Linked DNA regions of Homo sapiens: regions 2 and 3 are each linked to region 1. Evidence: promoter capture Hi-C in human tissues and cell types (Jung and others, 2019). All regions are on one chromosome and are shown on one strand. The core of a region is centred on a gene start or on the middle of the fragment in contact, and the rest is flanking DNA. Distances in the headings are between cores, read along the strand shown.

Region 1 (4,422 bases), core at 567-3,066:
GAAAATGTATGCTGGGTGTCTGATCAGTGTGTGGGCCTTGCCTGACCTGAAGAAATGAGTCCAGTGGGCTCTGAGCTGACTTCCAGCCCCACTCACTGCTGTAGGGAAAGGTGGATTAAGTCGATTCTCTAAATTGTTTCCTCATCTGTAAAACTGGGATTGTGTCAACCTCATCGGTAAGTAAATAGGCTAATTAATTAAGCTTAATCTCTGAGAAATGATGCTCCCTGGGCCAGCAGAAGTCTAAATAATGAGGAGGCCTGTGGTTTGTGGTGGGGGTACATACAGTGACTACTTCATTTTCAAACACTTCTCTTGCTTCTTCATAGACACAGATTTCTTCATAACATTCTTTTTCCAAGTTTCCCTCGAAGAGTTCTTCCAGAAGATAGGAGCCCGCACGCTTCCACCTCACCAGAACGTCGTTTGCTTTGGAGGCCGGGAGAAATACTACAGACGAGACAAGAAGGCAGGTGACTGGGAGCACCGAGGGCCCTGCTTTCCAGAGCTGCCTGGCTTCCTCCCCGGCCGGCCGCCAGCCCCAGCCCCGTCCGTCTCCACAGGCTCTCAGCCTGCGAGGGCCTCAGGGCCACCCCGCTACTCCCTCCCCCGAGGTAGGCAAGCACTTCATCCTCTGGGCGAATGGATCAGCCCCAGGATCAGTGCGGATACACTAAGGTTCTGCAGAGAGGCCACGGGCCTCAGTCAGGAAAGTGGAGGAGGGAGGGCTCCAACTGGGTTTTGGGTCTGAGTGCGAAGGAAGGCTGAGCTGGGGTCAAAGGTCCCCGTACTGAGAACTGGGGACCAAGAGCCATCAGCTCCTGTGCTGCCTCTGTGCGCAGCATTTAACATCTTGATAAAACACATAAAGAAGAAACTTATACATTGCAGCAGGCTCTGCGATTTCCAGGAGGAGAAGGCAAATGAGTTGACCCGCGGCAGTGGTCTCTGGAGCCTCTTCCCACCTGAGGGTCCCAAAGCATGTTCTCTCCCTCTCCGGGAGGGTCAAAGCCCAGGCCCTTCCCATCCTCCCTCCTTTTCTCTCGGTGCTGAGGGTTACAGCAGGGGGGGCTCAGCTAAGTCCGGCTACGGTAAGTGCTGGGCAGGGCAGGGCGGGGGGATCACCCTCTCAGGGTGGGAGACCATGGGGCCAGCGGGAGACCATGGGGCCAGCGGGGATGCTGGGTGTTTTGACTTGCAGCTTTCCTGGACGCCTGTGCAGGCAGAGTCAGAATGGAGTCCATGTCGTTCCTTCAGTGAAGTGGCTGGTGGTAGAAGGGTGGCAGGCAGGCAGGGTGGCTGCTCCCTGGCTATGTCTCCTGACTCAAGACTGGGCATTCCTGGCTGGCCTGGCCAAGGCTCTCTCTGCCCACATTGCAGTCTGGGCTCAGCCTGCCCCACCCCCTCCCCTCGTCCAATGCCCAACCCAGGCCTCCCCCCACTCCTCCCCCTTTCCCCCTCCCCTCTCCCCGGCCTTTCCCGGCTGAATCCCCTGCACACAGGCTTCTTTCCATTTGGGCATCTCTTGGGAGGACCCCAAGTGACACTATCATGTCCCAAATACTTGTCACCAAATGATAAAGATCCAAACAGCTTTTTCAGGGGAATTAAGACTAGTCTGGGCACTCAGGGCTCCTCTGGCTCCTGGAAAAAGCCTCATCTACAAATCCACCATGGACCGAGTCAAGAAAGACACAGCACAGGCACAACAGACAGGTAAGCCAGATGCCTACCTGAGGGCTCCACACGATGGAGGGCGAGGACCAGGACCAGGCCCTGGAGCAGTGGGACGCAGCCTGCCATTCCCACCCGGAGCGCTGGGACAGGGCTACAAACACAGCCAAAGTCCAGGCTGGGGGAGGTGCCGGCAGCAGGAGCCTCGGGGCACGACCTGTGCAGCTGTGTGCTTCCCTCCTGACGTTTTCTGTTTGAGGCCAGGCAGAGAAATGAACGGTGAAGGCTCAGAGGACCCTGGGAGATATTTAGGGAGACAGAGAACAGAAGGTAAAGGCAGCAGGTGCAAGGTGGAAGGTGGCACCCATGCCCGTGTGTGGTCAATGGAGGTGAGATAGGCCCTGGGGACACAGCACTGGGCGGGACAGACAAAGTCACATGCAGCTTACGTTCTAGGTGTGTGTGGAATACACAGAAAAGAACGAGGGAAAGAGACAGGAGGGAGTGAGGGAGGGAAAGCAGGAGGATGGAAAGAAGGAAGGGGAGAAAAGGAAGGGAGGGAGGGAGGAGGGAGAAAGCGGGGAAGGGCCAAATAGTGTCTGTCACTACAGCTCAGCACCATTGTAGCAGAGGCAGCATAGACAATCATGAATGAACACTTGGCTGTGTGCCAATAAAGCTTTATTTATAAGAGCTATTAAGGGGCCAGATTTGGCCCCAGGGTTGTCGTTTGCTGCTTTCAGATGTAGGCCCTGTGTATTAGTCCCTTCTTACACTGTTATGAAGAAATAGCCAAGACTGGGTAATTTAAGAAAAGAGGTTTAGTTGACTCCCAGTTCCACATGGCTGGGGAGGCCTCAGGAAACTTATAATTATGGCAGAAGGCACCTCTTCACAGGGTGGCAGCAGAGAGAATGACTGAAGCAGGGGAAATGCCAGATCCTTATAAAACCATCAAATCTCTTGAGACTCACTCACTATCCCAAGAATAGCATGGTGGAAACCACCCCCATGATTCAATTACCTCCCACCGGGTCCCTCCCAGGACACGTGGGGACTATGGGGATTACAATTCAAGATAAGATTTCGGTGGGGACACAGCCAAACCATATCAGCCCTTGAAGCCTGAGGTAAGAACCTGGTGTTTCATTTTCACTGTGTTGGGAAGATATTGGAGGGAACAGGAATTGACATGGAAAGATTTGTGCTCTGAAGGGATCACTGGGCTGCTGTGTGGAGAACAGAACATTCCAGAGAAGTCAAAAGGGAGGCTGCCGGCTAGTCCAGGAGGGGGTGAGGGTGCAGCCATGCAGCAGGAAGCACGTTTGCAGTCTGGATGCTTCAGGAAGGGAAAGCTGATGGGATTCATGATGAATTGTGTCGGGCAGCACGGCTCCAAGGTTTGGGCTGAGCGATTGGGAGGATGGCAGTGCGTGTGCTGAGACGGCCAAGCTCCAGGAGGGCAGAGGGAAGCGAGGTTTGGCAAATTTGAGGTGTCTGTGGGATGTCCAGGTGGAGACAGGAGTGGGCATCCGAGAAGCTGGGACTCACAGTGGAGATTCAGGTGGTAACAGATGAAATGACAGCATTGTCAGCATATAGATATTGTTCGATTGAATGACACTCAAAGGTGGCAAAACTCAATGAAAGGATTCTAAATACAATTTTGTTAAAGTGGGAACAGAAGAAAACTAAGAAGCTGACACCCTTGATTAAGAGGGCATGCCCGCAAATACACTGAAGTTGTGAAGTTTGCTTTAAAAAGCTGGGAAAAGAAAATAAAGTTTATCTTTAGTGAGTGAGTTAAAATAATTTGAAAGCCAGAAGTTGATTGTATAGGATAGCTCTTGGGTGAATTGCACCAGCCTGGCAATCTACGTGGCCTTCACTTAAGAAAAGGTGCCTTTTTTTGTGTGAAAATGTATTCCCACATGGAAATTTACATTAAAAATACTTCTGCTGGATAGTTTAAAAACCATCAATAGCTGCCTAAAAATGGAAAGGCAGACAGGGACATACACATTCGATCAATAAGTGTTAATTAAGCACATCCTATATGCCTGACATGGGTATCTGAGCTACAACCTCTTCCCTCATGGACCATTTTAGTCTGTTGGGGCTGCTGTAACAAAACACCTTAGAGTGGGTAATTTACGATAAACAGAAACGTAGTGCTCACAGTTCTGGAGGATGGGAAGTCCAAGATCAAGGCTCCAGTAGACTCAGTGTCTGGTGACGGCCCATGATTCATAGACGTGTCCTTGGATGGTGGAAGGGAGGAATGTGGGTGCTCCCTGGAGCCTCTTTTGGGAGGGCAGTCATCCATCCATGAAGGCAGAGTGCCTCCCAGAGGCCCCACCTCCTAGTACTATTGCACAGGGGGTTAGGTTTCAACGTGAGTTTTGGGGGATGGTTTGGCTCTGTGTCCCCAACCAAATCTCACCTTGAATTGTAATAATCCCCACAGGTCAAGGGCAGGACCAGGTGGAGGTGATTGAATCATGGAGGTGGTTCTTGTGATAGTGAGTGCATTCTCACAAGAGCTAATGATTTTATAAGGGGCTTCCCCCTGTGATTGACACACATTTTCTCTCTCCTGCCACCCTGTGAAGAGGTGCCTGCTTGCCATGATTATGTTTCCTGAGGCCTCCCCAGCCATGTGGAACTGTGAGTTCATTAAACCGCTTTTCTTTATAAATTACCTAGTCTCAAGTATTTCTTCACAGTGACATGAGAACAGACTAATAC
Region 2 (4,422 bases), core at 1,180-3,679, 96 kb before region 1:
ACTTGAGGTAGTAGTATGTCTATTTTAAATATGAGAAACTGAGCATTAGAAAGATTATATAATTTGTATAAACTACTGAGTGGTAGAAAGATGCTGTAAAGAATCAGAAATCAAAATGAAAACTGCAACAAACTATCTTTGGGCTGCTCAGAACAGGGTGAGCGAAGGACAGGTGGAGGTGGGGGCAGACACTGTGCTCTGGTGAAATCTGCCAGACTTCAACTTGGAAAAGAGCAAACTAAGACAAGTACACATTATTTTACCCAGCAGCTCCAGAGCAAGAATCACACTAAAGAAACAATCTAACAAGTGCACAGAAATGTCTGTGCCAGGGTGTTGAACGTAATCTTATTTTCAGGAGGGGCAGTGGAGGAATGTTAGTGCCTGTGGCCGAGGGCACTGCCAGCCCTGGTGGGTCTACACAACCGGCACTGTGCTCCTGCAACAAGTCCTGGCCAGGAGAAGACTGCGATCAGCAACGAAAACTGGCTACAGGAAGGCCCTGACAGGTGCCATATGTACAGTGATCCCAGGTGTTTTTTCTTTTGTAGAGTTTGGGGTCTCACTGCATTGCTCAGGCTGGCCTCAAACTCCCGGGATCAAGCGACCCTCCCGAGTAGCTGAGACTATGGGTGCATGTCACTGTGCCTGGCTTAGTGATCCCACTAAAAAAAAAGTTTACATACACTCACACCACAGAAAAAGGCTGTGACCACAAACAAAAAGGGCAGTAGTGGTTACCTTCGGGAGAAAGAACTGATAGACCTTCTCACTTTTGCCCACTATAAAAGGTGCACCCTCAAAGGAGTTAAAAACTTAAGTCCACATAAAAACCTGCACAGAAATGTTTATAGCAGCTTTAGTCATCATCACCAAAACTTGGAAACAACCAGATGTCCTTCAGTAGGTGAAGGGATAAGTTGTGATGCATCCAGACAACGGAGAATCCTTCAGTGCAAAAAGCAGAGTTACCCAGTCATGAAAAGACACGGTGAACCTCAAATACGTTCTAATAAATAAAGAAGCCAATCTGAAAAGGCTATATACACTATGACTCCAACTGTACGGCATTCAGGAAAGGGCAAAACTATGGTGACAGTAACAGGGTCAGGGGTTGCCAGGGGCTCGGAGGGAGACAGGGATACAGCGACAGAACATAAGAGAATTTTTAGGGCAATGAAACTGTCCTGTATGATCCTATAATGGTGGATACATAACATTATACATTTACCCAGACCCACAGAATGTACAACACCAAGAGTGAACCATATCAGATTCTATTACCATAGAAAGTGTGGATAATTTTCGAAACCCTATGACCATGGGGAGTTCTGGCTTAGCACACAACTTTTTTGTGAATAGGAATAACATTAAGTGGCTTTTTTTCTGATTTTCTTTCCTACTGAGAATGTGAAGTTAATGAAAGCGACAGGAAAATGAGTACTCTTATAAACATTACATAGTGAAATTGGATTATTGTAGAAATGTGCTTCAGGCCTCTAACAGCCAAAAACATTACTACAAAAACAAATGATTCCCTGCTAAACCCCCTATAAGTAAAAAGAGAAAGTTTATACATACAGTTTCCTTCATCTGAATTTGATTGATCTTTATTCTAAACAACTTGTGCTTGAACTCTCCATTAAAAATGAACTTGTCTCCATCTTCCACTTCCTTTCCTTTGGGACTTTTAATCAGCACACGTGCTTTGCCACAGGCCAGGGACTGCAGCGTTCTGCGCAATTCACTATCCTCTGAATGGGAAGCAAATGCAGGCAAAGGCTGGCGTTAAACGAATGAGACTCAACAACAGTAAACCAATCATGCTACCAAGTCTATGTCTTATCTTAAAACAAATACATGCTTTAAGAACAACTCATGGAGCTATGCACTCTGCAGTTTTCGTACCTATCCCCGTGGCCATTTTTATCTCCTCAAAGCTGAAGCCATCTCCCTCGTTGAACATGAGGAGCACCAGTGTCTGGAAGAGGGACACCTGGAATTCCTTCTTCCCCTGGAAGAGAAGGCCTCATCACACCTCTGAAGCTGTGCATGTACAATCTTTGAAAAATTAAAAGAAGCTTCTTTTTGCTCTCAAACTTTTTTTTTTTTGAGAAGGAGTCTCGCTCTGTCACCCAGGCTGGAGTGCAGTGGCACAATCTCAGCTCACTGCAAGCCCCACCTCCCGGAATCATGCCATTCTCCTGCCTCAGCCTCCCGAGTAGCTGGGACTACTGGTGCCTACCAAGCCCGGCTAATTTTTTGTATTTTTAGTAGAGATGGAGTTCCACTGTGTTAGCCAGGATGGTCTCGATCTCCTGACCTTGTGATCCACCCACCTCGGCCTCCCCAGGTACTGGGATTACAGTCCAGCTTTCTTTTATACGGGACTGACTGTAACGTAGGGGTGAATGCAATTTGGCCTTATATATCCCAGGATGATCTCCTTTTCTATTCAGGAGTTAGTGCTGCAGCAACTTGCCACATGCCTCCAGGTCAGACCCACGAGAGGCACATGAGAGTTTGGGTGACAGTTGGTGGCCCCCTCTGCGGACCCAGCCCAGACTCATCACAAGCCCATAACAAGCCCTTCCTGCACACCTGGAGAGAGCTGCAGTTGGTGGTGCTGGTACAGACCCTGTGGAGGTCAAGTTCAACTAAAGTCAGCAAGTAGGTAAAAAACTGGGGATAATAGAAATTAACTTTCCTAATACCTTAAGGAAGAGAATATATGGTTTCATGTATATGACTCTCTACAATAATAAAGTAGGTATGTATAACTTATTTGATAATGTACAGATAAGTTTATTATTAATATAACAGCTATACAAAATAGGAATTTTATGTTTTTGCTTAGTGTATATAATTGCCGTTTCATAAGCGCCTTTCATTGATCAGTGCATTGTATGCATTCTCCCCTCTTAAATAATCGCTCATAATAACAGCACTGCAACCACTATTCTCATTCATTAATCCGTGAAAATGTCTTATTAAGATGAGTTCCTAGAGTTGAAACTAAGGCAACAACTCGGCAGCAGGGTTGCCAAAGTTCACAATGCCAAACTGCCCTTCCAAAAGCTCACTACAGTTTATGCTTCTTCCAGTAGTGGGCAAGAGTCTGTTTTTTTTAATTTTTTTTTATTTTTTAGGCTTCATCAAATCTCTTAGTCAAAAAGTGGCATCTTACTGTATTTTACTTTGAAGCCCTCTGTTTAGCAGAGAAGTGTAATGCATCTTCACAGATATTTTTTTCAATTTTGCTTTTATGAGTTGCCTCTTCACATTCTCTGCTCTTTTTTTCAATAGGTAAATGGTTTTCTATGGATTGATTTCTTAAGAATTTTTATTGATTGGAATAATAACCCTTTAACTGTTACAAATTTTATTGACTTATAAAAGCTAGTGAATTAAAGTGAAACACTCCTTTTTTGCTACTAAAGTCCAGTAACAATAAAAAAATTATATTAACATATTTACAAATAATAAAAAATAAATGAAACAGACAACTTACTTCTTTAAACTCCGCTTTTAAAACAGCATGTCCCAAAGTAGTTTGCCACTGAAGTTTTCGACCACTGTGCTTTCCAAGATAAAATGCCTTAAATACTTCCTGAAGTTTAATCATCTGTTAAGCATAGGAGAACAACAAAATTATGCCACACACCATCCATCTCAATAGCTCCCCATTCAATGCACAGAGTTTTACAATTTCTCACGGCTGAATTAAAAGGTCAGCTCTATATTCTCACACTTTCTGGATTCCATTATTTGTAAAAACGTCCTCAATCCTTGAACTTTGGGGCTTCTCAGTGTCAACGAGATAATGCCTGAACTGGTGTTTCATGGTACAGACCAGCTGTATTCCGTGGTCTCTGTACATACCAGGGCTTGCTGGGGCCAGTGGCACAGAGTGAAGACTGGAGCCCGTCAAGAAAAAGGTGTCTGAGGCCAGATCCTGTGTCTCAGCCCGGCCATGCCCAGCCCTGGCCTCGGCTGGTGTTCCCGGCAATGAGCGGGGCTCCTGCTTCCTCATCTGTGAAGGGTGACACCACAACCCCTTGCGTTGCACTGTGCAGGGGCTGATGGCAAACACCTCCATCTGGGCCTGCACAGAAAGTGCAGCACGAGTTAGTTGTTTCTATGATTAGTTTCTGGGTGAATTTCTTTTCTTTTTTGGAACACAGGCTTGCTCTGTCAGCCAGGTTGTGGTGTGATCCTAGCTTACTGCAGGCTGGATCTCCCAGGTGCAAGTGATCCACCTGCCTCAGTGTCCTGAGCAGCTGGGACTACAGGTACATGACACCAAGCCCGTTGATTTTTGTTGTTGTTGTTGTTGTAGAGATGGGTCTTCTCATGCTGCCCAGGCTGGTCTTGAAATCCTGGGCCCAAGCGCTCCTCCTGCCTCGGCCTCCCAAAACGCTG
Region 3 (4,422 bases), core at 810-3,309, 82 kb after region 1:
GAGCGCACCGCCCTCGGAGCTGGAGTTCTCAGAGCCTCGCCGAATGCCTGTTGGGAAGAAGGGGAGCGGGGCATGAAGTCCCCTCTGACCCTCTGGAGAGGGGAAGTGCACCCAGCGGGAAAAGGCCCCGAGGAGAGGGTAGGACTCGGCCTCTGAGGCCACAGGTGGTGGCGTGGGCAGGACTTGGCCTCTGAGGCCACAGGGGGTGGCATGGGCAGGACTTGGCCTCTGGGGCCACAGGTGGTGGCGTGGGCAGGACTTGGCCTCTGAGGCCACAGGTGGTGGCGTGGGCAGGACTTGGCCTCTGAGGCCACAGGTGGTGGCGTGGGCAGGACTTGGCCTTTGAGGCCACAGGTGGTGGTGCGGGAAGGGGGAGGACGGTGGGGCCTCACTGCCCTGAGTCACCCCACGTTCCCACAGCCCACGGGGACACAGCGCCTGTGGGCTCCGACCTGGGAGAGCTCCCAACAGGCAGAAAATAAGGTCGCCTGGGACCCAGCACAGGAAGGCAAGAGCCTGGCCCCCGGGGCCCCTGAGATTGACAGCTGACTTTCGCCAAAGCTGGGGCAGCAGCTCGCCTGGTGGGTTCGTGTGTGAGAAACCAGCAAGGATGGGAAGAGGGTTCGTTTTGAGACACAGAGGTGGCGGGAAAGTCTCTGGGAAATGGCGCCGTGCCTGGCTCGGCATAGAGGGCGGGTTTGGGACCAGCAATGCGCGCCGGACTGAGGTGCGCGGACGTGGCTCTTCAGGGCTCCTGGAGCCCAGGGTCTGGGCCGTGTGTGAGGAATGTTGTTTGGCAATAGCACCGGGAAAGGACAGACCGTGGAGAGGCTGGAGCTGGGAAGGCCGGAGATGGTTCCTCTGTGGGAGCTCTGTGTTTCCAGTTTTGGGCCACGTGGGCTTCACTGAGACCACTGAACCCTGCCAGCCTCATGGAAAAGCAGCCACAACGATGCCTACAAGATGTGCGTGGCACAGGATGGGCGTGGCCGGGTCCTGACAAAACTCCATTTATAAACATGGGTGAGGGGTGGCGGGAACCGGCCCTCAGGCCCTGAACTGGGGCCCGGAGGTGGAAGGGGAGGAGGCGTGTGGAGACAGTTTTCGCAGGTGGCTGCCTCAGATGTACCAAGCTCTCAACGCCCGGGGCTCCCCCGAGGGTCCCACAGCACCCGGGGCACCGGGCGGCCACACAGACCTGGGGAGGGGCAGGGCGACTTTGCCAGTGCCTCGGGTCTGGGGGCCACCGGCTGCACGGGCCGCGTCTGCCTGGCCGCCAGCTTCTTCAGGCTGGCCTGCCTGCGGTGGAACACCTCCTCCATGCTTGCCTGCTTCTGGAAGACCTTTCGCACGTGCTCCTGAAACCGCATGCTCAGTAAGGTGCCTTGCACATGTTGGTGTCATCACTAAAAATACACAGTCAGGCGCAGAACGTGCCGGGGCACGCCCAACCCCCGCTTTAAATGTTCTCCATGCGGGGTCTGTCAGCGCAGCGCAGCTGTGTCCAGCCCTGGCCACTACGGACGGAGAGGGGGATGCAGCCCCCACACGGGACGGGGCCCCGGCCTCGGGAAAGGGCAGCTCCATGCGAGGGAGGGGCCTGCAGCCTTCCCCAGGCATGTGGAGGGCTCAGGAGGAGCCTGGTCTCAAGGGCATCACCAGGTCCCAGGGCCAGGCCCTTCCTGAAGAACACACCCATGCCACAAAGTCTGCCAGCGGAGGCGGGATGGCCACCTCGCAGGGTTGGCGTGGAAATAATTTCTGTGTTGAAAGGAAAATTCAGCTTGACCTCCCAACTGTGTGTTTCTCTCATATGCCTATTATTTGGTAGTAATTCATTAAATGGGCCAGGTGCGGTGGCTCACACCTGTCATTCCAGCACTTTGGGAGGTTGAGCTGGGTGGATCACCTGAGGTCAGGAGTTCGAGACCAGCCTGGCCAACATGGTGAAAACCTGTCTCTAATAAAAATACAAAAATTAGCCAGGCTTGGTGGTGGGCGCCTGTAATCCCAGCTACTCAGGAGGCTGAGGCAGGAGAATTGCTTGAACCTGGGAGGCGGAGATTGCAGTGAGCTAAGATCGTGCCACTGCACTCCAGCCTGGGCGACAAGAGCGAGATTCCATCTCAAAAAAAAAATAATAATAAATAAATACAAATAATTCATTAAATGATTCTTTCAAACTTCCCACAGAGGAATGCCTCACTGCTCGGGACAGCAAGCTGCAAATGGAGAGCCCGAGTCAGCGTTACCATGAGATCTTGGTTGAGGATGGATTCGTATTCCTTGTAAATCGCGTTGAGCTCCTGGATCTTATTTTCCGCACCGGTCTCCAAAAACTTCTCGATTTCCTGGAGGGCAGCCTCCGCGCCGTCCTGGGACTGGCACTTGTCCACAGGTTGTGAGGCCAGCAGGTAAATCCCTTCATCACACCACTTCATGGACTGGAAACACAGAGCATTGCCGAGGGCAGGACGCCGTGAGAGGGTGAGAGCGTCACCCTGTCCAGGCACACACTGCCGGGGTGTCCTCCCGACAGATCCCGGGCCACCGACTCCTCGTGCTCCCGCCACCCTGTCCAAAGCACCCCAAGGGGACACAGTGCTGGACAAGGCCAATCCCAAGGGGACACAGTGCTGGACAAGGCCAATCCCAAGGGGACACAGTGCTGGACAACACCAGTGAATTACCCAGGGCGGGGCCTGGAGAGGCAGGGTAAGTGCAGTAGGATCAACCAGGCCTTAAGCTTCTGGATCTTTTAAAGAAATCATTATTGGCTGGGCAGGGTGGCTCACGCCTGTAATCCCAGCACTCTGAGAGGTGAAGGTGAGAGGATCACCTGAGCCCAGGAGTTCGAGACCAGCCTGGGCAACATAGTGAGACCCCATCTCTATCACACACACACAAAATACAAGAATTAGCTGGGTACGGTGGCATGCACCTACAGTCCCAGCTACTTGGGGGCTGAGGTGGGAGGATCCCTTGAGCCCAGGAACCAGAGGTTGCAGTGAGAAAAAAAAAAAAAAAGAAATAAAACTGTGGCAAATGAATTCTAGAAAAAGACCCTCTAGGCCAACAAGACCAGAAACGAAGGGTGCAAGGACATTTTCCAGCCAAAGAGCTGCCCTCCCCACGACAAGGGTCAGCCGGTGGTGGATGTGGGAGGAAGAGGCTGGTTCCGCAGCTGGGGGGGAGTGGGGTGGGGTCCGGCTCGGCCTACCGTCTCCAGGCGGCGGTGCAGCTCCAGGGACTTGCTGAGCAGCCCCCTCCTCCTTGCGATCTCCGCAGAGAACTGGTCACAGAGGTGCCGGAGCTCCTGGCACTTTGGGCGGATGGAGTCTACCGCGTAGTGCTTGTTCCCAATGAGCTGCTCGCCGTCCAGAGACAGGGCCCGGGCCCTCTCCACGGCCACCTGTGGACGGCCACCCAGAGGACCAGCTCAGGCCTCTTTCTGTTCGAGGCACACAGTGCCTTGCTGTACGGGATGTGTGTCCCGGGGCACACGTGTGTCTTGATTTCTTTGTTTACTGCTGCGGATGCCTGAGATGCTGCTTAATCCCCGAAGCTGTTCTGTGGCAAGTGCTTCTGGGGGCTGTGGTGGTCCCAGCAAAGGCATTGACCGTCTGCAGGGACCTGACCCAGAGGAGGCCGGGCAGGGCCATGTGCTGTGGGTGGGGTGTGGGAGGGGAGGGGTACAGGCAGCAGCACCCCCCACCCCATGGACATCCCCGGGGGGCTGTGGGGTCCGTTCTCCGTAGGCGGGAGGCCCATTCCTGCGCCTTCCTGAGCAGCACTTGATGATGCTGCCCACACTCTCCCGCCGCCCCCGCCGGGACCCCGCCTTACGCCTGATTTCTCCTCGAAGCTGGCCAGGTCCCTCAGCAGGTGCTCCACATGCGCCAGGCTGTTGCCGATGTCTGTGAAGGTTGCTATCTTCTGGGACGCTGCGTCCAAGATGGCTTTGACCTGGAACAGAGGAGGGCCCATCTCAGGGGGGTGTCTCCCTCACCTGAACAGAGAGAACCCACTCCAGTGCTCCAGATCAGGGAAATGACAGAATTCAAAGTCGGGCCAAGTGGTCATCAATCAAGCAGGGACCACAGTCAGACAGGTGCAAAGTCGGCCCCGAGTGGTCACCAATCAAGCGGGGACCGTGGGGCCTCTGGGTCGACGCTACCCACCAGTGACCTCACTGGCAGAACAATTGTTTCTCTGTGGCTTGTGTGTGCCTCCGTTTATCAACCACACGCCTGAAAACAGCATGAGGAGAAGATGAGATCACGCAAGGACAAAGGCCCTGGGAGCCGAAAGCCAGCAGCAATATGGACACTGGAATTGTCAGCATTCCTACTGGATCCTAGGTGTGGAGAGTTATGTAACTCAGTCCCTTCTAGCTTGCTACTAACTTCTAATGTCTACGAT

What was found. The method cuts DNA at HindIII sites, captures the fragments that hold promoters and counts their contacts. A contact is called where the count stands out against the background at its distance.
Region 2: a contact is called between a fragment that was not itself captured here and the fragment with the promoter of PROZ in region 1, in 3 of the 25 tissues and cell types used here (bladder, heart right ventricle and neural progenitor cells).
Region 3: a contact is called between a fragment that was not itself captured here and the fragment with the promoter of PROZ in region 1, in 3 of the 25 tissues and cell types used here (H1 embryonic stem cells, dorsolateral prefrontal cortex and ovary).

Annotation. Positions count from the first base shown.
Region 1 is chr13:113,156,042-113,160,463 of GRCh38, reverse strand. PROZ (protein Z, vitamin K dependent plasma glycoprotein) reads right to left here and starts at 1,816. Exons shown (of 8, transcript NM_003891.3): 1 at 1,734-1,816; 2 at 287-450. The coding sequence starts at 1,803. LOC124903216 (a long non-coding RNA gene) reads right to left here. Exons shown (of 4, transcript XR_007063880.1): 4 at 3,854-3,934. RefSeq lists enhancers at 602-1,179, 1,756-2,333. The HindIII fragment of the contact is 7,105 bases long and covers 1-4,084 here.
Region 2 is chr13:113,252,285-113,256,706 of GRCh38, reverse strand. It overlaps CUL4A (cullin 4A), which reads right to left. Exons shown (of 20, transcript NM_001008895.4): 16 at 3,512-3,625; 17 at 1,909-2,014; 18 at 1,582-1,754. Among named protein-coding and RNA genes, the nearest start is that of MIR8075, 8.4 kb to the left of the region's middle. The HindIII fragment of the contact is 5,416 bases long and covers 1-4,422 here.
Region 3 is chr13:113,073,988-113,078,409 of GRCh38, reverse strand. It overlaps MCF2L (MCF.2 cell line derived transforming sequence like), which reads right to left. Exons shown (of 30, transcript NM_001112732.3): 10 at 3,847-3,966; 11 at 3,221-3,412; 12 at 2,253-2,444; 13 at 1,199-1,358; 14 at 1-47. Among named protein-coding and RNA genes, the nearest start is that of F7, 30 kb to the left of the region's middle. The HindIII fragment of the contact is 3,451 bases long and covers 334-3,784 here.